Regions from separate parts of the Homo sapiens genome. Here region 1 is linked to region 2. The links are contacts of gene promoters, found by promoter capture Hi-C in blood cells and fetal thymus (Javierre and others, 2016). All regions are on one chromosome and are shown on one strand. The core of a region is centred on a gene start or on the middle of the fragment in contact, and the rest is flanking DNA. Distances in the headings are between cores, read along the strand shown. Region 1 has its middle 13 kb from the start of RAB9B. Region 2 holds the start of TCEAL3 (transcription elongation factor A like 3).

The links. Contacts are between HindIII fragments. The CHiCAGO score rates a contact against its expected background, and 5 or more counts as called.
Region 1: a contact is called between a fragment that was not itself captured here and the fragment with the promoter of TCEAL3 in region 2, in 1 of 17 cell types (activated CD4 T cells). The highest score is 5.3, in activated CD4 T cells.

The regions. Positions count from the first base shown.
Region 1 is chrX:103,817,683-103,820,382 of GRCh38, forward strand. It overlaps a transcript of RAB9B not described here. Among named protein-coding and RNA genes, the nearest start is that of RAB9B, 13 kb to the right of the region's middle. The HindIII fragment of the contact is 2,330 bases long and covers 177-2,506 here.
Region 2 is chrX:103,606,506-103,609,233 of GRCh38, forward strand. It overlaps TCEAL3 (transcription elongation factor A like 3), which reads left to right and starts at 1,458. Exons shown (of 3, transcript NM_032926.3): 1 at 1,458-1,553; 2 at 2,099-2,168; 3 at 2,533-2,728. The coding sequence starts at 2,560. RefSeq lists silencers at 1,353-1,582, 1,613-1,782. The HindIII fragment of the contact is 12,227 bases long and covers 1-2,728 here.

The DNA of each region.
Region 1 (2,700 bases), core at 92-2,591, 210 kb after region 2:
GGTTGAAAGTGGAACTGTTTCTATCTCTGCATTTATATTTAACACAAGGCTTCAGAATAATCTGATTATTACAGCAGTAGACTCAATTCAAACCAGTCATTTGACATCATGCAATTAAAGCATCTGGATGAATGAATATTTTTTATTTCTAGCAATTCTTTTATCATGGTGACCAAAGCTTAGATTCATAACCTTTCTAAACAAAAGTAGTCTCGAGTATAATCAGAAACAAAGGACAAATCAAATAAGCACCTCTCTTTCCCCAACCCACCAGTTTTCTAATTTATCAGAACATAACCTTTTCTATAATATGGCAGTATATTTTTAAAATACCATAAACAAAATTAAAAGGCAAGATCTATGGGAGGGGATTGCAGAAAACTAGCAATGTGGATAAGATCAAAGGTTAATACCCACAATATAAAAAAAGATTTCCTTGGAATCAATAAGAAACAAAAATGAATGTTCCCCAACCCCCATAAGGGTCCATTCACTCAAGGAAAAATAAAAATGGCCAATGAATGTATAAACAATTACTCTCAAAAAATTAAATAAATGTAAATGACAGCATGAGATCATTTTTTCACCCATCAGACTGCACATATGGGGTTAAAAAGGAAGATAATAGTCCATACGTTTGGGTGTTGGAAAGATAGTCTTCCTCTTATTCTACTGGTGTTGATGTCATTTGGGATAAGTTTCTAGAGGCCAATTTGCCAGTATATATTAAAATTAATAAAAAATTCATAATCTTTGACCTAGAAATTTTACTAGTAGGAAATAAACAGAGGTGAGAGTTAAGATTGATATTAAGGAACTTCACTGATGCTTTATTTTATGAAAAGAAGGCAGCTGTAAAACAACCTAAATGTCTAGCAATAAGTGTTTTATTAAAAGTTTAGCAATATGGGTAATTGTGGTAAACCCTTCAATACAATATTATGCAAACAGCAAATATAATCTTAGAAGAATATATGTCTTAGAGAAAAGTTAAGTACTATAGATATATATTAAGTAAAAAAGATTACAGTGTGTGCAGTATCAAATCAATTTTAAAAATACATAAATATATTAAAATCTACACTAAAATGTTAAAATCTGCTTATCTCAGGTTAATAGGATTACATTACAGATGACTTTAATTTTTTAAATCTTGCTTTTCTATTTCTTTCATTACTTCATTTTTCTACGGTGGATGTGTATGGCTTTTGTAATCAGAAAAAAAGAACATTTTAAAGCATTTATCGGTCACTCTAAGTTTTCTAGCAGGGAACAAATGGAAAAAGAGAGAACTCAGAGGCTACTGGCACTTGTTCATCTATTAACAGACTCTATGTTGAGCAATATATTACAGGACACACCCTTGGATATGTCGTTTCTAAGGCAGCCAGGAACAACGTAAGAGAAAAGAGATGATATGAGCCTGTTTCTTGCTTCCTCATGAATGCACCACAGGAAAGTGTGATTTGTATTTTTACTCTAATCAATATAGCTAATGTTGAATTAAGAGCTATTTCTTTCATTAAGGCAGCATTTCCCAATTCTTTTTATCAATCAGTTAACTAGATGTGGCACAGCTTGGCAGGTCTGATTAAAATTCAGGAGTGTTATAGTGAGACCATTATACATTTACCCATAGTTCATACAGCACGAAAGGAACTGACAGATTACTTAAAAATACACATGCTTGCACACACAAAACCCACTGTTTAAAAAGACATTTATATATAACTGAATCATCATTCTCTGTGTTTCCTTGGAGAAGGCAAAGAGATTTATGAAGACACAAAGATCACTGCAGCAGTTTCTATATGACTACAGGTGACGACGCCACATCTTGAGCTGTGAAGATGCTTATTTTCACTGGGAAAATATTAAGTAACTTCTTGCCCCCTTAAAAAAAAACCCTTTCACACATTATTACCACTACCATCACTAGCAGAATAAGAGATCCTTGCTCACCAGTTTTGGCAAGCATATCAGTAAGAAGGCATTTAATAATTTTTCCTTTATTCCATAAACATGCCTAGCTTTTGTCATTATCCCTTCCTTCTCTTAAAGAGAAAGTAGTAAAGAATGAGAGCTCTTTTGGTGATGGAAACTTGAGGAAATTAAAATGACCAGTTTGGAAAAAGAAAACATTAGTGAATATCCCAAATCATGCACATTAACGTTTTATCAAAAGGTGTATGCTATGCTCTGAATCTTTTTGTCCCCCTCCAAAATTCATAGGTTGAAATCCTAACCCCCCAAGGTTATGGCATTATAAGGAGATGGGGCCTTTGGAAGGTGATTAGGTCACAAGGGTGAAGCCCTCATAAATGGGATTAGTGTCCTTATAAAAGAGGCCCAGGAGAAACCCCTTCCCCCTTCCACAGAGCTGGAAGGTGCCATCTGTGAACCAGAAATCAAGACCTCACCAGACCCTGAATGTGCGGATGCCTTGATTTTGGACTTCCTAGCCTCCAGAGCTGAGAAATGAAATTCTGTAGTTTATAGCCTACCAAGCTTATGGTATTTTGTTAGGGCAGCCCAAATGGGCTAAGACAGTATATTACAGTTTATCTGCCCTAAAATCAAGTGTAAGAAAAACACTGCACTGTAGTAAATTTTACATTTCCACAGCAAAGAGAGAAAAAAAGTGAAATGATTATCTAGATCACTGAGGAAAAAAAATTGCTGCAAGATCTACTTTGGGTA
Region 2 (2,728 bases), core at 208-2,707:
CATTCAGGTGGATATATCTAATCGTTAATTAAAACGGATCTGAATCAAATTTATGCTGAAGTTCATGTAGAAAAACAAACATACAAGAATGTGTTGGAAAAAAGAGAATCTACTGAGGGGACCTAGCTCTACCAGATATATGAAATTATATATCCTCTATAATTCAACTGGTATATGGATAGCAAACAGACCAATGAAATAGAATAAAAAGCCCAGAAGGTTTTCCAAGTACATATGGATATTTGATATGTAATAAAGGTGGTATCTCAAATCCCTAAAGCAAAGATGGACTTTCTGATGCCAGAACAACTGAGAAACCGATTGGAAAAAGAAAACAAAAGATCCATCAATACTTTATGCCATACACAAATATAAACTCTAAATGTAAAGAAAACCATATGAATACTAGAAGAAAACATGGGTGAATGCTTCTTGGACCTTATGTAGGAAAAGATTTCTTAACTATGAATCGAAATCTAGAGGCAATAAAAGTTAAATAAATTTGACTACTTTTTTTAATGCATGGCAGAAAAACACCATAAACAAAGCCAAAAAGCAACTGACAAACTGGAGAGAAAATTGCAACATATATAACAGTTAATGTATTAAGAAAACTTGAAAATTGAGGTGAGAAGGACCAACAACCCACTAGAAAAATGTGGAAAAGACATGAACCGACAATTCACAAAGAAAGATATTTAAATTGTCCTTAAACACAGATAAGGCAAAATAAAATGCCATTGAGATATTACTTCTCAACTATCATATCAGTGAACATTTAAAAGTATGTCATAGGTTATGTTGGGAAGGGCATTGGGAAACAAAACACTCCCCTATATTTCTGATGGGAATGCAAAAATAGGTCTGAGATTCTGGGGAGGGAATAGCCTGGAGATGTAAATCTGGAAGTCATTGGTCTTTACTGGAAATGAATGAGATCAAACAGGGAGACAGAACTTGAGGACTGAGGAGAGAGGAGGCCCAGGACAGAACCCTAGGAACACTGCCACTCAAGGTGGCAGCTCAGCTTCCTGGCAGGCAGCACCACCCTGGGCTCTGGAGTCAGGCAGAGACAGTCTTGAAAGCGGGCTCTGGAGTTCTGGGGCTGAGCGCTCTTGGCAAAGTCGGGTACCCTCTTTGATCAGCTGTCACACCTGGCGATAATGGCATCAGAGAGAGATACCCTGCGAGGATGCCGTGAGATGCGCCAGGTAAAGCACCTGGGGTCAGAAAGCCACCCCCTCCTCCTCTTCTCCGTGACCCCCCTTTGCTACACAAACACACCCCGACCCCGACCGTCCCCAGCCTCCCGGTCCTTCGGGGTTGGATGGTGAGGTGGGTCAGGCAAGGGGGGCCGAGCTCGGGTGACGCGGCGCTCACGTGACCCGCCGGGCGCCTACGTGGGCACCAGCCCCCGCGCCCGCCCGCCCGCCCTGCGGTCCGGTCCTGGCGCCCGCGCAGAACCAGCTGTCTGAGCTGCCCGGGCAGCGGGGGAGCAGCGAGCGGGCTTCCGCGAGCCGGAGAAGGCACAGGCCTGTCCCGGGTCCCGGCAGGTCAGTGTGAAGGTGGGCGCTGCCGGCGGAACCACGGAAGGGGTGGAGGTGGCTGGCAGTAGGAGTAGGGAGGGGCGGAGAAAGGATCCGGGAGACTGGTGAGGAGGGGGAAGCGGAGCGGTCGGAGGCAAGGGCGGGGGAGCCTGGCCCGCCTTCTCGACGACCCCCTGCACTGAGCCGTCCATCCATTTTAGTACTGGAAATGGAGTACGGGGGGGCAACCCCGCAGTGCAACAGTGAAACGTAGACATATTCTGGAAATAACCGCCTCTCACAATCTGCTCCCATGGAAACATCTGACCTCCGCAAAAACGGGGTGGCGCTGGGACAGGTTGCCTCCAGGGGAAGGGGACACAGAGACAAACGCAGTTTGGAAAGCATCCTGGTTTGGTGCCCGAGGCCTGGAAAGAAATGGCGGCTGGGGTGCGGGGGATGTAGGGGAGGAAAACGTTGGGTAAGCAGGGCCTGGACTCAGGAAAGGGAACCGAGTCCCTGTGAGACCGCTGACTGCGCAGCCCCTACCCCTGTCTCCTGTCTGTCCGCAGGTCTGCGCGTCTGTTCCCAGCGCTCTGCGAGGCCTAAAAAGGAGGAGCAACCTGTCCAGAATCCCTGCAGGTCTGTGAAGGTGGTTGTGGGGGAGCTCAATGGACAGGGCCCTATAAGGGTTGAGAGTGTGGAGGGCCCGGCCAGGGCCGAACTGGGGCCCCTGCCCATCCCCCACTCACATGAACACACACCTTACCAGGCTGAACCAGTGCAGAGAAGGTGGCAGGGACTGCCAGGGAATGGCTGGCTCACGTGTGTGGGAGGAGTGGCAGGCTACGTGGTGGGCAGAAGGCCCTCTTGGGGGCCCTGCCAGCTTAGGGGAACCCTCACCAGGGGTGAGATGCAAGTACTATCCAGACCTGCATTCCACCCCATGCCCTCAGTCTCCCATGTCTCTTATTTGTCTCCTCTTCCCTCCATTCCCATCCCCCAGGACAGGAAAAGGAGGGGAAATCTCGACATGGAAAAACCCTACAATAAAAATGAAGGAAACCTGGAAAACGAGGGAAAGCCAGAAGATGAAGTAGAGCCTGATGATGAAGGAAAGTCAGACGAGGAAGAAAAGCCAGACGTGGAGGGGAAGACAGAATGCGAGGGAAAGAGAGAGGATGAGGGAGAGCCAGGTGATG